Regions from separate parts of the Homo sapiens genome. Here regions 1, 2 and 3 are each linked to region 4. Evidence: promoter capture Hi-C in 16 types of primary human blood cells and fetal thymus (Javierre and others, 2016). All regions are on one chromosome and are shown on one strand. Each heading gives the region's core, a stretch centred on a gene start or on the middle of the fragment in contact. The rest is flanking DNA. Distances are from core to core; before and after follow the strand shown. Region 1 overlaps TDRD9 (tudor domain containing 9). Region 2 overlaps TDRD9 (tudor domain containing 9). Region 3 overlaps TDRD9 (tudor domain containing 9). Region 4 holds the start of C14orf180 (chromosome 14 open reading frame 180).

The links. The method cuts DNA at HindIII sites, captures the fragments that hold promoters and counts their contacts. A CHiCAGO score of 5 or more calls a contact.
Region 1: a fragment that was not itself captured here is called in contact with the fragment with the promoter of C14orf180 in region 4 in 1 of 17 cell types (endothelial precursors); the score reaches 5.6 in endothelial precursors.
Region 2: a fragment that was not itself captured here is called in contact with the fragment with the promoter of C14orf180 in region 4 in 5 of 17 cell types (activated CD4 T cells, endothelial precursors, naive CD8 T cells and 2 more); the score reaches 7.1 in activated CD4 T cells.
Region 3: a contact is called between a fragment that was not itself captured here and the fragment with the promoter of C14orf180 in region 4, in 5 of 17 cell types (endothelial precursors, naive CD4 T cells, naive CD8 T cells and 2 more). The highest score is 6.9, in endothelial precursors.

Annotation. Positions count from the first base shown.
Region 1 is chr14:103,992,464-103,995,800 of GRCh38, reverse strand. TDRD9 (tudor domain containing 9) reads right to left here. Exons shown (of 36, transcript NM_153046.3): 10 at 1,415-1,469; 11 at 1,198-1,282; 12 at 1-51. Among named protein-coding and RNA genes, the nearest start is that of RD3L, 52 kb to the right of the region's middle. The HindIII fragment of the contact is 3,607 bases long and covers 145-3,337 here.
Region 2 is chr14:104,017,418-104,020,637 of GRCh38, reverse strand. It overlaps TDRD9 (tudor domain containing 9), which reads right to left. Exons shown (of 36, transcript NM_153046.3): 23 at 2,446-2,546. Among named protein-coding and RNA genes, the nearest start is that of ASPG, 67 kb to the left of the region's middle. RefSeq lists an enhancer at 2,542-3,220. The HindIII fragment of the contact is 934 bases long and covers 878-1,811 here.
Region 3 is chr14:104,034,438-104,037,899 of GRCh38, reverse strand. TDRD9 (tudor domain containing 9) reads right to left here. Exons shown (of 36, transcript NM_153046.3): 32 at 2,844-2,940. Among named protein-coding and RNA genes, the nearest start is that of ASPG, 50 kb to the left of the region's middle. The HindIII fragment of the contact is 1,480 bases long and covers 1,171-2,650 here.
Region 4 is chr14:104,578,403-104,581,564 of GRCh38, reverse strand. C14orf180 (chromosome 14 open reading frame 180) reads right to left here and starts at 1,801. Exons shown (of 5, transcript NM_001008404.3): 1 at 1,562-1,801. The HindIII fragment of the contact is 16,067 bases long and covers 1-3,162 here.

The DNA of each region.
Region 1 (3,337 bases), core at 699-3,198, 590 kb after region 4:
GACATCTGGAACTGTGACAGAACTCTCTGCAATATTGGTGGACAGAATAATCTGTTAAACATCAAAGAAAAAAGCTGACATTCCTACTATATTCCGAACATCATTAGGCAAAGTTTACAAAAATGCAAAAATTATTTTAAAGCTTCTGAATGTAAATACTGAACTCAGGTTTCAAAATTAGCCATTTTTCTATTTTATACACATCACAATTGATCAAGAAGCCCCTGATGAATGGAAACCAGCCACATACAACACAGCAAAGGCTTTAACACAGGCAGACAAGACACGGGCAAAGGGAGCTATTCCTGACTTCTGGTGTGGTAACTTTGGTGGGGTGGAGAGGGGTCCTGGAATTGCCCAGGGGCACAACCAGGTTTCTAGAAGAAGGGTTGTTGCCTGTACTTGCCCTAGAATACCACCCAAGGCTGCTCCTAGAGATTCCAAAGCAATCAAGGGGGGCGACGTTGTCAACTCAGGCCCCCTGATCACCTCAAGCAGCTCTAGAAGGGTCTTGTTAAAACAACTCCATCATTCACACATAATCTGAGATAAAGAAATCCTCCTGAAGCAGGACCTAGAATATGGCTTCTAACCAGAGTCACCAGAGTGGTTTCAAGGACACGAGAACAGTCCCAAAGTTAAAGAAATGCTAAAGAAGAATTAAAAGGCACCAGAATTCCTGAATTGAGAAAACAAAAAATCTTAGCTTTTTAGCAAACTGATTTACAAAATAAAACACAAAACTAAACAACATACCTGGCTCATTAGGTAAATATTTGTTTAAGTGAGTAACCACTAACTACAGAACACACTGCTGAAATGTGATTTTTTTTTCTTTTTTTTTTTTGTTTTGAGACAGTCTTGTTCTGTCACCCAGGCTGGAGTGCACCAGTGTGATCTCGGGTCACTGCAGCCTCCACCTCCCAGGCACAAGTCTCCCACCTCAGCCTCCCAAGTAGCTGGGACTACAGGTGCATGCCACTGCACTCAGGTAATTTTTATATTTTTTGTAGAGATGGGGTTTCGCCATGAGGCTGGTCTCAAATTCCTGAGCTCAAATGATTCACCCACCTCAGCCTCTCACAGTGCTGGAAACACACGCATGAGCCACGACACCCAGAAAATATTTTTCATGAGTAGAGTCTCTAAGGAAAATTTACCTAAAGTGCTTAGAACTTGTCTTCCCAGTTTTCCTACCTTTCTGTACCCAGGGACTGGACTTAAAAAGACATTATTCTGTTCTTCTAAAGCCACACTTGAATGGAGTGGATAGACCTGCAACCTAAGAAATTACTAAAATAAAATCTCCATAAAGAATAGATATACATGAGATACAAAAATAAATACTGAGATAATTTAAGGCAGAAACAATGCAATGGCTTAGAAGAATACAGCTGTATCATTTTCAACATACCTTTTATGAACCAGGCTTGTGAGAAGTTCATGCATATAATTTATTTCACCCAGACCTAGGGAAGAAAAAAGTGGAGGAGGGAAATAAACATGTTTGTATTTACTGCTAGAAACCAACCTTTAAATTAAAATGGCATATCTTTCAAAGAAGGCCCTACCAATTTATTTGACTTCTTTATCCTCTTTGCCTAAATATGCCAGAAACACAAGTAAAAGTACACAGTGACATTGATTAGTAGTAACTCAAAAATATAGGGAAAAACCCTATTATTCCAGTTTTCCTTTACACAGCAGTGACTCCCTGTGGGTGTTAGCTATATGAGTAATTTTTGTATTCCTTTTTTACCCCCAGATTTTCTAAATTTTCTATAATGAGCATGCAAAATCTTTACAATCAAAAAATAACATTTGTAAAGTTTTGGTCATGAGGATGTGCTAAACCATTTCCATCAGGCCTCCGTCCTGTTTGCTGAAAGCTAAGCTAGCAGGTGCTTTTGCCTCATCCTGATTCTCAAATCTGAGTCTGTTATGGGTTGAACTGTGTCCCCTAAAAAGACGTATTGAAGTCCTAACCCCAGAATGCGGAAGGTGGTGTTATTTGGAAATAGAGTCATTGCAGATGTAATTAGTTAAGATGAAGTTATACTGGAATGGGGTGAGCCCTTAATCCAAAATGACTGGTATCCATACAAGAAGGGAAGAGGCACAAACAGAGAATGCCATGTGACAACAGAGACAGGAGTGATGTAGCCACAGGTCAAGGAGCACTAGGGACTGACGGCCACTACCAGGAGCTGGAAAGAGGAAGAGGCTCAGAAAGAGCATGGCCCTGCTGACAACTCGATTTTGAACATCTAGCCTCCAAAACAGGGAGAGAATAAATGACTGTTCTTTTAAGGCATTTAGCTTGTGGCACTTTGTTACAGCAGTCCTGGAAAACTACTATAGAACTGTTCACAAAAGATCAATTGACACATAAACATCTATCAAACTTGAATTCACATGAACATATTAAAAGGACAGTAACCCTAAATGTAAAATATCACTTATAAATATTTTCTTCAGGCAATGTTTAGCAGGTAAAAAGTATTTACCAGCCAGGAGCAGTGGCTCACACCTGCAATCCCAACACTTTGGGAGGCTGAGGCAGGTGGATCACTTCATGGAGATCACTTGAGCCTAGCAGTTCGAGACTAGCCTGTGCAAGCTAGTTAAACCGTCTCCACAAAAAGATACCAAAAAAAAAAAAATTTGGCCAGGCATGGGGGTGCATGCCTGCAGTCCCAGCTACTTGGGAGGCTGAGGTGGAAATATCACTTCAGCCCAGAAGGTAGAGGCTGCAGTGATCGGGGTCACACCACTGTACTCCAGCCTGGGGAACACAGCAAGACCCTTTCTTAAAAAATAAATAAAATAGAGTATTTATCTCATGTTAGGTATTCTTTTTTTTTTTTTTTTTTTTTGAGATGGAGTCTCGCTCTTTCTCCCAGGCTGGAGTGCAGTGGCGTGATCTCGGCTCACTGCAAGCTCCGCCTCCCAGGTTCATGCCATTCTCCTGCCTCAGCCTTCCGAATAGCTGGGACCACAGGTGCCCGCCACCATGCCCGGCTAATTTTTTTTGTATTTTCAGTAAAGATGAGGTTTCACCATGTTAGCCAGGATGGTCTCGATCTCCTGACCTCGTGATCCACCCACCTCAGCCTCCCAAAGTGCTGGGATTCCAGGCATGAGCCCCCACGCCCGTCCGTGTTAGGTGTTCTTAAGCCTCGGCCTCCCAAAGTGCTGGGATTCCAGGCGTGAGCACTGTGCCCGGCCCATGTTAGGTGTTCTTAAGCCAGTATCAACATGGCTCTACTTGGGTGATGTTTTCCCCTTAATACAATATGATGCACACAGAAGTCATCTGATAAATATTCACCAAGGC
Region 2 (3,220 bases), core at 95-2,594, 560 kb after region 4:
CGCCTCCTCCGCTCTCCTTCACGCCCCATCCTCTTCACTCATAAATGCACGCATTTTCCTTCCACCCACTGCCTGATTCATGCCCTTCTGCTTTATCTCCCTTCTTTAGAGTCTCTCCTAAGACTCCGTAGAAGTAATTTTAAACTCCAGACCTCAGCGTCTTCTCCTCGAAGCTGCATCCTCCCCAGCATCCAGGCTGGAAAGCCGGATGCTCTTGGGCTCCTCTCACTTCTTTGCCCCCCACATGCAATCACCAGGCAAATCCAAGACATCCTCCTTCCCGTCTGTTGGCTCCTTTTCATGTCCAACAGCACCATACTGGCTGCACATCTCAGTACCTCTGCTTTGGACTACTGCAAAGACTCCAGGCCGGCTTCTACTCCTCTTACCTTGACCTTCCGCTTATCCCTGAGTAAGTTCCATAAAACACAGTTCCGGACAGACCACTCAAAGGTCTCCAAGTGCCCACCTAGTCATGTTCACACTCATCAGTCTGCCAGAAGACTGTCTCAAAGTCAGCACCTGACCTCCACAAAACAGACTCCATCTGACACGGAGCAGCTCTGCCCAAACGGCTACCAGCTATGTGTGCACAGTCTCAGCTTTCCCCTGTCAAGATCAGCTAATGACTGCCTCCTGCTGGAAAACCACCTGACCCTACTGCACCACCTCTGCACTGGCCACTGCACCAGCCCGAGGCCTCACAACCCTCCGACGTCTACCCGAGGAAGTCTCAAATTAATGTTACTGCTCTAATATTGGGCCTCAGATAGAATGTCTTCTTCTGACCTTCTAGGCCTTTCCCATGACATCTCACAGCAGGCAAATGTCTGTGAAACTAATTTGACTCTCCACTCCTACCACGAAGTTGAAAGCTTCTTATGGGAGAACATGATATGCCCAGGTACCACCTGTGCCCATCTGCCCATGCGCCCTTGGCACCTCACAGAGTCTACATGAAGTCACCCCTGCTCTATGCCAAAAGAAATACACTTCTTATTCTTTCAATCACTGTAACTTCCTTTGCCTTTAAATACTTGAATCCCAAGAACTGGTACTGGTACAGAAAGAATACTGTTACTTCCCCCAAAAAATTGGTATGACATTTGTATTATGACTTGAGAGCTGGAAATATGAGGAATGCAAAAGATATAAACACCTATAAAAAAGGTCCCAGGCAATGGGAGGCGGAGGTTGCAGTGAGCCGAGATTGTGCCACTGCACTCCAGCCTGATGACAGAGCAAGACTCTGTCTCAAAAATAAATAAATAAAAATAATAAAACAAAAAAAAGTCCCAGGCAAGAAGAACAGGCAACAAACACAGAACCCAATCCAGTTGTAAAGAAGAGGGAACAAAGATGCTGCAATCTTCTGGGAGCCAAGCCTTCTGACCACTCAAATCAGTCAAAGGAGCATCCATGCAGAACTGGAAGCTCACCCAGGTAAGCAGACGCACACTATTCAGGAATGAGTTTAGCTGTGTGATTCCAGCTTTAAGTAAGTTACTTTATATATGTGACTAAGAATCTTACTATAATTTACATCAGAATATTTAAGAAAAGTTCAGACACTACAAGTTTAATTAATTCTCTAAGAGTTGTTCAAAGCACTTAGGAAGGTTTTGCTTATTAGGGAGTTGTGTGTTTGCCTCATGAAGCATTTACAGGCCTACAAAGAAAATCAATATATTAATCATAGAAATGGAACTTAAAATGCCGGAGGGAATTACCCCAAATTGAAAATGGACTTAATGTTCAACTTGAGTGAACTGGACATTAAAGAAAAAGTGTTTGTTCTTATTTACAAAGCTTTGTAAAGTTAAATAAAAATTTATACAACATTCACAGAACACTGGAAAAAATTTCTAACTTTAAAAATTAAAAATCCTACTTTAGGCTTTTTGGTACATAAACATTTCCTGTTAGAAATAAAAACTCAGTGATGCTCCAAAACACACATTTGTTCCTTACATGCAGTAAGTAGAGCCAAATTGAGTTTTTACAATGTTTGCCTTCCAAAAATATTCAAAACATATCTGCTTTAGACAACTATAAGCAGATACACTCTATTTTGGATCACCTTCATGGCCCACAAAATAACTCTTACTAATGACTCACTGAGAAAATCTCAGACCAGTGCGTGAAAGTGAAGATCACTTTAAGAGAATCCGCCTTAGCATCACACTGAGTTACTGAGCCTTCTTGGAGTGACCATGCTTGACCACTAACCAGCAGCTTAGTTCCTTTAGGAGGTCACTTAGCAGAAAGAGAAGACAAATTGCTTCTGACCATAAGATAAACCAAAGCTACATTCTGAAAGCCAATTGCAGCAGCCCATAGGAGGACCCATTTCCATGGGCACTCCGTTTTAACAATCAGCGTCTGGAAACATTTGAATCATTATGCCTCCTTCATAATTGCAGTTGATTACAAAAATATACTTACTTTGCACCATCAAATACAATGGATTTGACTTGACCACACTGTCTAAAGAGAGACTGTAGTTGTTTATAGTAAAGAAATCCATAGGGAGGAATGTGTTTCAACTGTAAAATATAACACAAAATCAGAGCAGATTACTAGAGCTAACAAAATAGTTTCAACATTCACAAGCTCAAAGCTGCTGCACACTGTTTTAGTTTCTAAAAACATAGTTTACTATCTTTAACCATAATATATAAACTCTACAGATCAGTGCATTTAAAGACTTTTAAATTCTAACTAAGTTCTATAATAAATATGTTAAATAAAGGCTAATTCTAACCCTGTTAAAATGGTGTAAGTCTAATACAGCAAAATTAAGATTTGTTTACTTCTGTTTTCCCTTAAAATAATCAAGCTTACTAAATACTTCTTTTCAAAACATATTTCTACATAAGGAATAATGGGAATGTAAACTTTAAAGGAAAATGTCTAACTAATGAGAGGAATATGTATTTCCTCATCACCACAGTGGAAAGACCAAATAGCACATGATCAAATTGGCAGTGACTTTTAATGTATAAACTCTCAAGGTACCATGCTGGGTTTCTGCAAAGCACTCCATACTTTCTTCTGGACCAGGACAACTCCTGTGCCAGCGCAGCTCTGCACGGGGCTCCGTGACAGAAGGCATGTAAGTGAAGGCATGGGCTGGGGCTCAGATCCAGTTAGATCCTGTCTCCTCACTCCCTGAATCCGCGTGTCTCCTTAGGCAAGTTACAGAGTTACCCTGAGACCC
Region 3 (3,462 bases), core at 661-3,160, 540 kb after region 4:
TCAACTACTCCAACTGTTCAGGGAAAACACCTCGAGGACAGGGGCAGCAAGAGGAGTGACGCACTCCGGGGACAGATGTGTGGTGGATCAGCTCCACGATGAAGGGAAGAGGAAAGCTGGCACCAAGGCTCAGTCACCCTGAGTTATGGAGGGGCCAACTACAAGTGAAGGTCACATGGCAGAAAGAACAAAGGAGAGGAGACAAATGGCAGCTAGGTCAGTCCACAGCCAGTTGGCAAAGAAGGGGACAGTGGCCTCCACTTAGATGTCTCTGCTTATGAATGGGGCATAACACATATCTCCTTCCCCTTTTTAAATTGAAAATCAAGATAAAATTAAGTTTTCTGCTCATCTTCCTTTCCTGCCACTATTGTACAAAGAGTATGTTAGAGGTGGTAAAAAATTATCACTTAGTCGTAAAGTTGAATCAGTTGTGACAGGACAGTGACACATGTGGAGGGAGAACAGACTTTACCCAGAGACTGCAAGCTTCGCGTTTAACAAGGGGGGCCAGGACAGCCTCTAGTGCAGCAGCCAGACGCCACCCGAACAGGAGACGAGTCCCATGCGGGTGCGCATTAGAGAGGTGGCTCACAAAAGGAAGCAAACGGGCATGGGCGCATGGCGGGGCAGCGGCTCGCAGGAGCTGTGGGCTTTGGAGGACAGCTCCCCTCCGGAACACACCTAAGACACAGTGCTGGGACCCCTGGGCCAGTTCTGTACTGAAGACCCCCCTCCTGCTCGCTGCAGAAGACTGCATATTTAAAGTGAAAGGAAAGGAGAATGCTCATCCCAAATCAAACAGCTGTCATCTTTCAAAGTTTCTCAAAAACAGTTGTTACTCACTCAACAAATTAAAAAAAAAAAACTCCAACCTTAGAGACAGAGTGAGACCCTGTCTCAAAAAACAACAACAAAATAAAAAACAACAACAAAACCAAGCTTATACAACTACTCAGAGGCAGGCAGAGTTTGGAGGAAAATCAACCAGGCCCCCCTGCTACCTTTCCGATAATCACCTAGTTAAGCCTGTGGATTCAAAGACAACTAGTCTTACGCACACTGTCACATAAACCGTCCCAAATCTGGCACATTTCAGTTAATTCAACAAAATGAATATAATCAGCAAAGCACTGTGTATTGTTATATATAACCTTTTCCTATTAAGCTTGTGCTTTTTCTAGAAAGATGGTGTTTTAAATACCAAGTATGTCAGTATTTCTTGAATGTCTACAACCTAAACGCTTGCACTCTGGAGTTGTGAAAATAACACACTATATCATTCAAATCCTCAAAAGCTGGTGTTTAAAAGAGGTGAAGCAGGAGCTTTGTCTAGTTAAAAAGGCAAGCAGGGCGTCCAAAGTGCCATGAGAGGAAGGGACCTGCTTCTGCACTAGCCAAGCCTCAGGCCTGCAGGTGCACAGCGTGCTATTTGCTCATGAGATCATCCCACTGCCACGTGTGGTTCCTGCACATCTGTCTCCCCACCGAGGCTCCAAGACGCCTGAACTTACAGAGGGATTTACTGCATCATCATTGCAAAATTAGGTCACATTTCAACAATTAAAGGCATATTCAATCCTTTCAGACAAGAGCCGCTCAGAAACAAGTGCATGTATAATTAAAACAGGGCGGTATTTTTGTAAGCCATCATATGCCCATTCAGTGATATATGATACAATTATCAAAATGGATATTTACAAAGATATCATAATATGAAAAACCTGGTATTTGTGGGAAAAGAATACAGTATAACAAGAATCTTAAATAAAAATATGTATATACAAATTTAAAATAAGTATACTATTTAAATTTAAATCTATAAATTTAAAAATGTGTTAATTTTTCCCATTCAGCTTTTTCTAAGTAGCACATATTTTAATGAAAAAAATATTCTTACAACTAAAAAAAAAAGCACTACACATTTTGAGATTGCACTGTCAGATTCTGAACAAGTGTAATGGCAAAAAGGACTGAGTAAACGGTGGGGCCCTTCCACCTGCCTTGACTGAACTTAGCCCTCTAGGTCTATGGACCACCCCTCCATGCTCACCAGCTGACTAGAAAAGAAGAAAAGGGTAACTTTCCATGCCCCCGACTCTTGAAGTGCTACCAGGCCTCTACTGCAATCTCGTCATGGCCATTTCCATCCTGCCCAGCAGAATGTGAGTTCCTAAAGCCCAAATATTACTCCTTTTCTAGCCACCCCCACCCACTGCTCCACTAAAACCTATGTTAGTGCTTTCCCCACAGAGAATGCTCTGTCAATCCCTAGTCTGCAAACAAAACCTTACACGGCAGCAGCCCCCACTGTGAGGGTGCCTTTAAGAGCTCTGCTCATGGCATCACACACTCCTCTCTATCAAAGTCTCTGGGAGAAATCCTGGCTTAATCGTGGCATTAACAAGAGCTACAATCTGCTGGGCAATCTGCCTTCTGATGTCATGGTTACCACAAGAAGGGGGACTGACGGGTTCTTGTCGACAACTGGTCACCAGAAAACTTGGAATCACATTCACCACCCATTAACAATGGGATGTCCATCACCATGACATTTATTTTGAGCCTCATTCCTAGCTCCATTTTTAATTTATTTTACCCCTTTTTTGCCTCAAGCTCCTATGTGACACAGTGTGTACCTTTACAAGCTTTCTGAGCTTCTTTCAAAATCAGCCCAAGCATAAATAAATCAATAACAATACAGGCTTCACCCCAAGCAGCGAGACGTGCCATGGCTAGCTTCCATAAAGGCTTTCTTTCCAAAAGGAGCAAGGAGAGGCACCCGTTTTTTCCCGCCCAGGTTCTTATTTTACAAAGCCTATAGACAAGAGGGATGCCCGTACCTTAACTCTATCACCGGTGCGAATAACATGCTGAGGAGAGCCGGGAGGCCAGGGATATGAGGCATCAGAGAGGTTTCTCTCAGCAGCATCGTAGATCCTGTTCAAGTCATGCTAAATCAACATCGGGCATTAACTCACGCTGCTCAGGGCAGCGTTCCCTCCCGGCCCGCTCCTACTCATCTGCAGGTATCCCCTCCTCTGCTGAGTCTGTCCAGTCCCCACAGGCCCACCCCAATAGTAACGCACACTCCCTGTTCTCTGTTTCCACAGTACCCTACAGAGAGACACTACGCTATGATGCGTAAGCTTTTACCCCACTTGGGGATAACTCCTATTTGGTTACTCTTTGCATCTCTTTCCCCTAATCAGGCTATTGGATTTTTCCCAGGGCCAAGAGCTTGGATGTATTCTACTCTGTAGCCAAGCAGGGTGGAATGAATGAAAGATCCAGGAGTCAATTATTAATACTTCCCACATCCTTGTATAAAAGGAAAAGTGAGAATGCTCCACCGCGTAACCTCGCACCAGCCAAAGCAGTCAGAAAATGGCCTAAAAGAACAGCACGTAAGCTGGGCGCGGTGGCTCACGCCTGTAATCCCAGTACTTTGGGAGGCCAAGG
Region 4 (3,162 bases), core at 552-3,051:
CTGGCGGTCACAGCCTCGCTGTCGCAGGGTGTGAACCAGAGCTGTTGCGGCTCACAACCAGCTGAGAAGTTTCCATTACGGCGACACTGAGCAGTGGCCTCAGCGGCCCTGAGGGCCCCGGCTGACTTGCTGCTCTCGGGACAGCCCGGTCCATGGGGAGGCCGTCAACCACGGGCTTGGTGGCCCCAGGAGGAGCTGGGCCTCCTCAGTCTCCCAGCACCTTAGTAGTTTGGCCACAGGCCTAACCCAATGGCCCTGGGGCTGCAGATGCAGGTTGTGCCTTCTTCCGGTGGAAGAAGACTGGGACCATGGACACTGCCTCGCTGGCCTTTCCTCTGCAGGGCGGAGGCAGAACACAGCCAGGCGGGGTGGCTGGGCTCCTGGGAAAAGCCTTGGCTCCCAGCCCAACGCTCACCACTGGAACCACGCTGGCAGCTCCCCAGACAACATGCGTTCTCGACTTAAGTAAGAGGGAGAACTTGTGGGGAGGCCCCTGGCTGGGCTGACCGCCCACTGGGCTTGCTCAGGTGCCTGCAGGCCCTACCAGGTAGGAACAGGAGCAGGAGCTGCCTGGTGGCCCCCTGAGGCCCCTCTCCATGCCTAGATGGGCCCTCACATCCCGAGGTGCAGTTAGGGCTCGAGGTAGCAGCAGTACCGGGTGATGGCTGCTCATCTGCTGGGTGCAGGGGCCACCCTAGGCCTCGAGAGCTCCAGACAGACAGGGCGGGGGACCCCCCCAGGCCCTTCCTCCCATATGTGGAATGGGGGCTGTTTGCCAACTGTCCAGGGCACTGCAAAGCTCAGTAGTGCCCAAGAAATGGCGTGGCGTCCAGTGCTGGGTGGGGGTCCCATGGCCACACAGGGCAGGACAGGGATTCCTTCTGACTGACGGCTCAGAAAAGAGCCAGTTCTCAGGGATTCCCAAACACTGAGAACTAGGCTTCAGTTACTGGAGTAACGAATCCATTCCTGCTAGGCTGGGCCTGCGTAGACTTGCCCTCGGAGGATGCCCCCCACCAAGGCCCTTCAGGGAAGGCTGGCTGGGTTCATGCCTGGCACGGCTGCCTGCATTCCCCTGAGAGTGCAGCCCCTTCTCCCACTGCCCAGGCTGTTTCGCGCAACATCAGGTGCCCTTTGGAAGCTCCTGTGTGGCCAGGAGCACCCCCGCTGCTAAGTTTGAAGTGGCCGTGTTCCCTGCTTCCCCCAGAGGCGGCCTGGCCTCAGTGTGGACACAGGGCCGGCCTGGGACTGTCTCCGTTTTAGGGAAACCATCAGTCCCAGGAGAAGGGGGAAGGGTGGCCACTCTGGAGCTTGTTCAGGTCACTCAGGATCATCAGTGTGTGCTCTGCCCAGTCTCTGCCCACACCTGCTGCCCAGCTGGGGCAGGTTCCCCACCTGCACCTGCCTTTGGCAATCTCTCCGCTCTGCCCAGTCTCTGCCCACACCTGCTGCCCAGCTGGGGCAGGTTCCCCACCTGCACCTGCCTTTGGCAATCTCTCCGCTCTGGCATCTTCATACCCAAGCAGGAAGTGAGCCCCCTCTCCCTGGGGCTGGAACTCACCTGGTTCCCTCCTGGCTCCCCGAGGGACAGAAACAGGCTCTTCGGGATCTCCCTGTGGGGCACAGTCCAGTGAGGTCCTGGACCCTCTTGGCCGGCAGCACCCCTCCCAGGCCCTTGAGAGTTGAGCCTCGGGCAGAACTGCAGGGCACACAGGTGAACGGGCCAGGCCCGCCCAGGCCTCCTTCCCGAGGGCTCTGATCTGGAGGCGCCACCGCCCGCTGGCAGGGCCGGGTCTGTTGTGGCCTTCGTCCCGTCTCCAGCCCTCTCTGCTGGATCGCAAAGCTGGGCCAGCTGGCAGCGGCCAGGCTATAATTACCTCTCCCCTTTGGCAGAAATAGCAGTGAACCCGAGGACAGGCCGCTGGCCCCGGAGCAGAAGGGGGTGGCTGTTTCCCAGGCCCCCGGTGGACAACAGACCATGATTTCAGATAAGACCAGAGTTTGCTGCTGTTCCTACCCCTCCCGGCCCAAATGTGCCCCCTCCCAGGTCAATTCCAGAGCTGTGCAGCTCTTGGAAAAACCTATGGATTGGAATTCGGGGCAGAGTGGGAGAGGGAGGGCACTGTGGGGCTGCGGGAGGTGAGGTGATCACAGAGTCCAGCCTCCAATAAGACCCTGACCCAGCATGGGGCCTCCGTGGTGGCGAGAGTGCCCGCCCTGCCCCAGGCCCCTGTGCCCCTGTGAGTCCTGACCTGGGGTTGCCAGAGGGAGAGGCAAAGAATGGGTCCCAAGCTGCCGTTTTGGGGCACACTGGCCGACCCTCGATATTGCCCTGGCAGGAAGGGGCAATGTATGGGTCAGTGAGCGATGGCAGGGGTGAGGGATCAGCCTTTCTCAGGGTCTGTCCTGGGTGGGCGTCCAACTGCCCTGCCTGGCGCTGCTGAGTCTGCCCCTCATTTGTAGGTGAAAGTGCAGCTCAGAGAGTTGAGGCACCCTGTCCAGAGTCACACAGCCCGGAGGTGGTAGCCTGGCTCAGGCTTGGTGGCCCGTCCTCGCCAGCCCCCCCGTCTGCTGGTGCATGTAAAGGCAGGTCTGAAAGAGGCTGGTGAGGGCATCACTGGCGCAGGGCACCACCACATGTGGGCAGACCCCTGCCTGGTTTGTGGGGCTTTGACCTGTTTCAGGGGACTGCTGGAGGAGGTGTGGAGAGACCCGTGTTTCTCCATTAGGAATGGGGGTGCATCTCCCTTGGGTAAAGCTACAGGACCCCTGGGAGCCCAGGGTGTGCCAGGCTGGGGGACAGTGTGCACAGAGGGTGACTGCTCAGGGCCAGCCGTGGGGCTGCATGGACACAGAGTCCTGGAACCCACCGTCAGAGCATGAGCAACGCAGCCACTGGGATGGGGTTCAGCAGACCGGCCCTCCCCTCACTGCCGTCTTCAGTACAGGGCATGGGGGAGCAAACTTTTCTCTTACAGGGCCATATGGCACACAGTGCGCTCTGTGTCTACACAAACGGGGTGGGCCAGATTGGCAGGAGGGCCTTGGCTCGCTGACGCTTGTTCCAGGGAGAGCACTGAGGAAGGCTGGGTGGTCCTGCTGGCAGTCTGGCTTCCTGGGAAGAGTGAGGTCCTGTAGCCAGACAAGACCCTCTCCCGCCTG